Linked DNA regions of Homo sapiens: region 2 is linked to region 1. The links are contacts of gene promoters, found by promoter capture Hi-C in blood cells and fetal thymus (Javierre and others, 2016). All regions are on one chromosome and are shown on one strand. The core of a region is centred on a gene start or on the middle of the fragment in contact, and the rest is flanking DNA. Distances in the headings are between cores, read along the strand shown.

Evidence for each region. The method cuts DNA at HindIII sites, captures the fragments that hold promoters and counts their contacts. A CHiCAGO score of 5 or more calls a contact.
Region 2: a contact is called between a fragment that was not itself captured here and the fragment with the promoter of CWF19L1 in region 1, in 2 of 17 cell types (M0 macrophages and M1 macrophages). The highest score is 6.0, in M0 macrophages.

What each region holds. Positions count from the first base shown.
Region 1 is chr10:100,265,750-100,269,506 of GRCh38, forward strand. It overlaps CWF19L1 (CWF19 like cell cycle control factor 1), which reads right to left and starts at 1,889. Exons shown (of 14, transcript NM_018294.6): 1 at 1,822-1,889. The coding sequence starts at 1,844. The HindIII fragment of the contact is 22,053 bases long and covers 1-3,757 here.
Region 2 is chr10:100,339,029-100,342,785 of GRCh38, forward strand. No RefSeq gene overlaps it. Among named protein-coding and RNA genes, the nearest start is that of SCD, 6.3 kb to the right of the region's middle. RefSeq lists enhancers at 388-457, 3,404-3,698. The HindIII fragment of the contact is 806 bases long and covers 1,417-2,222 here.

The DNA of each region.
Region 1 (3,757 bases), core at 639-3,138:
ACCTCAGGTGATCCACCCACCTCGGCCTCCCAAAGTGTTGGGATTACAGGCATAAGCCACCACACCCGGCCAGGTGTTTTCACTGTACCCTTTCTATATTTAAATACAAAAATGCTTACCATTGTGTTACAATTGCCTACAGTATTCAGTACAGTAACTTGACGTACAGCTATACCATTTAGCCTAGGTGTACAGGAAGCCATACCATCTAGGTCTCTGGAAGTACACTCAAAGATGTTCGCACAATGACGAAATCGCCTACCAACTCATTTCTCAGAACATAACCCTGCTGTTAAGCAATGGATTACTCTTATTTCCCAAGGCTCAATCCTAACATTCTCGGGAAGCCTTCTTGACTCCTATCATTAAGCCAAATACCCCTCTTATGCACTCTCCCAGATTCACGAATATTTTCTTCCCAAAAGTTACCACTATTGCAATTTTTTTTTTTTTTTTTTTGAGACAGGGTTTCAATCTGTCACCCAGCCTGGAGATCAGCAGCACGATCACAGCTCACTGCAGCATCGACCTCCCCAGGCTCAGGTGGTCCACCTGCTTCAGCCTCCCAATTAGCTGGGACCACCACGCCCGGCTAATTTTTTTTTTTTTCTGTATTTTTTGTAGAAACGGGGCCTTGCTATATTGCCCAGGCTGGTCTTGAATTCCTGGACTCAAGTGATTCTCTTGCCTTGGCCTCCGGAGTCGCTGGGATTATAGGCGTGAGCCACTGCGCCTGGCCCTATCACTATGGTAACTTTACATTTATCTGAATTCCTTTTTTTTTAGACGGAGTCTCACTCTGTTACCTAGGCTGGAGTGCAGAGGTGCAGTGTCGGCTCACTGTGCAACCTCCGCCTCCGGGTTCAAGCGATTCTCCTGCCTCAGCCTCCCAAGTAGCTGGGATTACAGGCACGCGCCACCACGCCTGGCTAATTTTTTTTTTTTGTATTAGTAGAGACGGGGTGTCACCACGTTGGCCAGGCTGGTCTCGAACTCCTGACCGCAAGTGATCCGCCCGCCTCAGCCTCCCAAAGTGCTAGGATTACAGGCGTGAGCCACCGCGCCCGGCCATTATTTGTATTGTTTTTTGTTTGTTTTGTTTTGTTTTGTTTTGTTTTGAGAGTCTCGTTCTGTCGCCCAGGCTGGAGTGCAGTGGCGCGATCTCGGCTCACAGCAACCTCCGCCTCCCGGGTTCAAGCGATTCTCCTGCCTCAGCCACCGCGCCCGGCCCATTATCTGGATTCTTTAGTACCTGTTCCTCTAGACTCTACGCTCCATTAAAGCAGGAACTCCATCTGTTGCAACACCTAGCACAGCGTCCGGCACACTGCAGTTCTTCAATAAATACTTGCTGCATGAAGCCCTCTCTTCACCACCACCCCCACCCCTCCTCCTCGCAAAAAAAAAAAAAAAAAAAAAATGCCCCAGGGAAGGGTCCCTATCTACTCTGTCCACCACTGCCCAGGGCCCATCAGTGGGCCCAATGGCTATTTGGCGAGTAAATAAATGGGGTCAGGAGAAACGAAGGGGAAAGGATGTGTCAGAGGCCAGGACTGCCCCCTAAGATGGAGGAGGCCTAACTCTGGGAGCTTCCGCCTCTCCGAACGAGCGTCGCCAAGAGAAACCCCCTCAGAAGCGAAAAGGGCCAGGAAAAGAGGTCAGCCCCGGCCAGGCAAAGACATCACCTAAGCTCCCCAGCAGCCCCGTGTCTCTCCGCCTTTTCCTTCTCCCTTCCCGTCATGGGAAAGACTCCCGCCCGTGTCGTCACCTACACACACGAAAGAGACACAGGGAGAGAGGCTTCCATTCACGGTCACTCACAGGCGCAGCGGTTTCTGTGCCATCTGTCCGAATAGTATGGGTTGCGACTGCCACCTAAAATTGGGAATGCGAATCCGCGCTCCCCGGAAAAATGCGACCGCGCAACAATCAGACGTCAGCGCCCTCCAGCCAATAACGGTTCACTTACTTACGGAGACCGCCGAGGGACAGAAGCCTCTCTCAGGTGTTTGCGCCTCAAGGAAGAATCAAGAGGGAAAGGGAGGAACGAAGGGAGAAAGAGAAAGTGACCGAAAGGATTCCAACTATGATTTTTTAAATTAAATTTCAGAGCACTTGAAGCGAATGAATGGCTAGGAAGTACAGAGCACAATGTCGGGTTCTAACCTAACCTAACCTAACCTAACCTAACCTAACCATATCGGTCTAGTGGGCAAGACAGACCCCCTCTATCCACGTTTTTTGTAAGTTTTTAACCTATCAAAAAGTTAAGAGGCCGGGCGTGGACGCTCACGCCTATAATCCCAGCACTTTGGAAGGCTGAGGCGGGCGGATCACTTGAGGTCGGGCGTTCAAGACCAGCCTGGGCAACATGGTGAAACCCCGTCTCTTCTAAAAATACAAAAATTAGCCGGGCATGGTGGAGAATTGCTTCAACCAGGGAGGCGGGGGTTGCAGTGAGTCAAGATCGCGCCATTGCACTCCAGCCTGGACAACAAGAGCGAAACTCCGTCTCAAATTAAAAAAAAAAAAGTTAAAAGAATAATGGCTATTACCTTGATTCAGTAAGTCTCAGCATGTTGGCAAATTTGCTTGTGTTCTCTTTCTCTCAAAGTGCCCAAGCCCTTCCATTCTCACTCAATCATTTGAAAGTAAAGTACAGGCCGGGCGCAGTGGCTCACGCCTGTAATCCCAGCACTTTGGGAGATCCAGACCATCCTGGCTAACACGGTGAAACCCCCTCTCTACTAAAAATACAAAAAATTAGCCGGGCGTGGTGGCACGCACCTGCAGTCCCAGTTACTCGGGAGGCTGAGGCAGGGGAATCGCTTGAACCCAGGAGGAGGAAGTTGCAGTGAGCCGAGATCGCGCCACTTCACTCCAGCCTGGGCGACAGAGCGAGACTCCGTGTCAAAAAATAAAATAAAATAAAGTGCGGACAACAGGAATACATCTCCATTTATCTCCTAAGATTAGGATATCCTCCTACATAACCGTAATACTATTAACACAGCTAAGAAAATTAACATTAATTATTCAATAATATTACCTAATATACATCCATATTTAAAGTTCTCCATATTTCCCTACAAACTGATTTTATATTTGGGGCTTGTTTTGATTCAGATGCAATCAAGTTTCACACTTGCATTTGGTTCTGTCTCTATTTTAATCTACAAAAGCCCTCCTACCTATTTGGTTTTAGTTTTTGTAATATTGACTTTTTTGAAGGGTTCAGGCCAAGTGGTAGGAAACAAGTGTGTAAGGAAATGGAAACAAGAGAGAGTTCCTGACGACTGCGGGGAAAGGAAGACTCATCAAGGGCATCTAAATAATTCAAAATTAATAAAACATAAGATTAAAGAAGAACTACAGGCCAGGCACAGTGGCTCATGCCTGTAATCCCAGCACTTTGGGAGGCTGAGGCGGGAGGTTCACTTGAGAACAGGAGTTCAAGGCCAACCTGGGCAACATAGCCAGACCTCGTCTCTACTACAAATTTAAAAAGAAAAAAAAAAAAGTTAGCTGGGCATGGTGGCCGTATGCCTGTACTCCCAGGTACTCCAGAGGCTGAGGTGGGGAGATCACTTGAGCCCAGGAGATGGAGGCTTCAGCGAGCTATTACCTTGCCACTGCACTCCAGCCTGGGTGACACAGCAAGCCCTGTCTCAATAACCAAACAAAACTACAAAGTTCTGGCTTTTCCCACAGCCTACAAGCCTTCTTTTTTGTTTGTTTCTTGCCTCATAACTGGTGG
Region 2 (3,757 bases), core at 570-3,069, 73 kb after region 1:
GCCTGAGTGAAGGAGATAGGGTAGGAAGATTGGGAGGGCAGCTGTGGCATAGTCAAAGAGAGGTTCAGTGAAACCTTCTGGGAGCCACAACAGGCCATCGGGAGTTCTGTGTCCCCCAAGAATGGGCTTGCCTTCACATCCCTGCCACACTTAGCTACTGGTGAGGCTGCTCTAGGTGGGAGCAGGCCTGGGGCAGTATGACCCAGGTGAACATCTTGGTCAGCCGCCCTACCTGTAGTCTGCGGTCTCTGAGGCCCATTCGCACTGCCTCCATGCCTTCCTTTGGAGAAATGACAGCCTCAGCCCTCCGGGGTTTCTATCAAGTGCCACATCTGCTCTCCACCTCTCAGGGAGACAACTGAACCTTCATCTCTCACCTCATGTGCTGATTTCACTTCCCAATTTCATTTCCTTCTCCCCATGACCCCACCCTCCATCATGGCTCCTCCCATGCCCTGGATGAGACTCTGTGCCTGCTCCTGGAAGCGTTCAGGCACACTCACCCTCCCAAGCAAGCCCTACATTTCCATTCCTCTGCCTTTGGCTGCTTCTTGCTTAGAAGCCCTAAAACATGAAGGAGGTAATGGTATTACCTGAATGGTGGCTTCAGCCCGGATCCCAGGTGTCAGCCTGCCCTGGCTGGAAGCTAGCTGGCCAGCACCAGGCCCCATCCCTTTCCTGGGGTCCCTGTTTCTCAAGTGACCATCTATCCTCTGGTGCCAGAGTTGGTGGTGAGGTCCCAGACTCAGCTGAGCCTCATAGACCTCCCTGAACTATGCGATAGGCAGCCATAGCTTTGCCAGGTGGCTCAGAGAGCCAAGCAGCTCTTGGGGATCAGAAAAAAGACATTGACACTTGGCTGGGGAAAGCAGAGGTTTGGTAAAGTGAATGTTAGAGGGAAAGAATGATGGGTTCTTGGCGTGTTCTTGGGAACAACAGGGTCCACAGCCCCCTTTGGGGTTCTCAGTGCTGTTGAGGCTGCAGGAACTGAGGTAGGGCTGAGGGGCCTGCAGTGCCTGGGGCTCCAGGCTTCGCTCCTCCATCTCCCTGGCTGGTCCTCAACTGCAGGCTTAGGAAGGATGGGATAAAGGTAGTTGGCTTTCTGGGCTGCTGCCTGAAAGGAGGACATGGGGACACCAAATATTCTGCAAGAACGTATCTGGGCCAGATGACATTGCAAATCCAGAGTCCCTTAGGACATGAGAAGGGAATAACTCTGGCCTTTAAAAGGGAATCCAGCCAACCCCGGGTGTGGGAGGAGCAGAATAACAGCATGGAAATTCACCTTGATTACATTAATTTACACCTTAGATGCTGAAGGTAAAGCTGAGGGCTAGCATGGGATTTTCCCTTTCTCTCTTGGGTAGGGAGAGATGGGGAAGAAAGGTGGAGTTGGGGGCTGGAGTAGAAAGATCAAGCTTTTAGCCGACCTGGGGAGCCTTCCAGAATGTAACTTGCCCAGAGGCCAGGCCTCCTAGGTACTAGGGTTTATGCAGCAGGGAATGTGATCACGGGGGAAGTGGTGAGTGGTGGCAGGGCAGGGGAGAAGCAGCGCCCAGCAAGTGTCCTTCTGACTTTCTGCTCAGCATGTTTGTTCTGTGGCTGGAAAGAATGAGTTACTAGACAAAACATATGAAGTACCTAGTACGCACCTAGCAGATGTTAGGTACAGACAAATCCCCATCACATCCCCCACCTCAGTGCTCCCAGGCTGGTACAACTTTTCTGAGCCTTGCAAAATACAGGTAAATATGTGGGTAAATATTAGTAGATTATCAAAGCACCTAGCACAGTGCACATAAATAGATGCTTAAATAAATAAAAATAAATTTTAAAAAAACACTAAATGACTCTGTCACCAGCCCATTCTCTTCCCCTACCCGATTCTAGGGGCACCTCTTAGGAAGGGCGCCCCTCTCTCTTCCCTGAACTCCGACCCTGTTTAATATAGTATGTTTACACTCTGCCTTCATCAGATGCTAGCCTGCCCAGTTTGCTATTGTGCTTTGTCCTGTTTCTCTTAGAAATCTGTGAGCTCCCCAGGGGTGGGAGCAGAACTTTGGCTCCATTCTCCCCCACACAGCAGAGAATTGACTTTCCGCTGGGCACAGGGGAGGCTCAGTCAACACTCTATCCCCATGTGGCTACGTTGGCTTAGAGGCACAGAATGGGAGAGAAGCAGGCTCTTGGCTGAGGAAAAGCCCTGGGCGAGCACTGAGGGAAGCTTGGCCTCAGACATAGCCAGCTGCCCTCTGGACCTCGCAGCCCTGCTGTGCCCAGCTCAGCTGCTGTGTCAGTGCAAAGCCAGGGTGACATCAGCTGTGGGAGAGGTTACTGTCAGGCAAAGGGAAGGCCAGGAGAGAGATGGCTGGCTGGGGCACGAGGCTAGAAGGACTCAGGAAACAGTTCCCTTGTAGGGGAAGCAGCAGCTTGGGAGGGGCAGTTGGGAGGAGAGAAGCAAAAGGGGTGAAGGGCCAGGAATGGCCAGGGCCTGCCTGTTCCTTTCACCTACAGCAGGGAGAGAGGCATGGGTTCAGAACTCTGGAAGAGAGTGTGACCTTCCTGGGAGCACTCTTAGCAACTGCAGGAAGCAAATGGGGATTTACCTCTCTACGACCAGGAAGGCAACACAGGAGCCGGGCACGGTGGCTCATGCCTGTAATCCCAACACTTTGGGGGGCTGAGGCGGGTAGATCACGAGGTCAGGAGTTCGAGACTGGCCTGGCCAGTATGGTGAAACCCCATCTCTACTAAAAATACAAAAGTTAGCCAGGAGGGGTGGCATGCACCTGTAATCCCAGCTACTTGGGAGGCTGAGGCAGGAGAATTGCTTGATTCTGGGAGGCAGAAGTTGCAGTGAGCCAAGACTGTACCACTGCACTCCAACCTGACAACAGAGCAAGACTCCGTCTCAAAAAGAAAAAAAAGAAAGAAAGAAAGAAAAAACGCGGGGGCAAGCTGCTCTTCTCTCTTTACTTTGGCTCAGAAGCTGAGTCAGGGCAAGAGAGACTTTCCCTTCAGCTTGTTTATTTGTTGTTGGAGGCCCTAGGCCTGTGTTTGCTTTTCCTCTCCATGTGTTCATCCTAGATGGCTTGCTCAGAATGGGGTAGCCTTCCAGGCTGGGGAAAGATCCCCTATGGGCCTCCAGAGGAGGGAGGGAGTAGTCTGTGGCCTGGGAAAAGGCATCTTTGTAAGGTCAGACCACTGCAGAAATCTCTGGCCCTGGTCCTGGTCCTAAGACATTTGTCCCCAGGCCTCATCTGCTGGGACTGTCAGTACCCATCTCACACATTCTGCCCTGAGACATAAACTGCTTCCAGTCACACGCACTATCTGATCTGAGGACGTACCCCAGGGCCCCAGGGATAGGTAACAATAAGTTGGTGGAGGCCCGTCCGCCAGTATGCATACCTGTGTGTGCAGACATTCCCGTGTGTGAGCACACACAGAAAGGGCTGGAGTGAGAGGAAGATCATGGCTCTGTGGATAGTGTGGAGAGACAGATGTCTGCCAACAGAGGGAGGTGTGGGGCTAGTGCACTGGCCTCTTCTCTACCGGGGAAAGACGTGCTACACCATCTATCCAGCCTGGGGCCCAGGAGGAGCCATATTCAAGGGTCCTCGTTCATAGTATATCAGGTCAGTCTTTTCCTCCTCTAGGTCTCTGAACTTGCCAACTGCCCTTCTCCACACTCACCCTTAATGGTCCCTTCGGATTTAGCACCGTCTCCTCCGGGAAGTCTTCTCTCGTTCTCTGG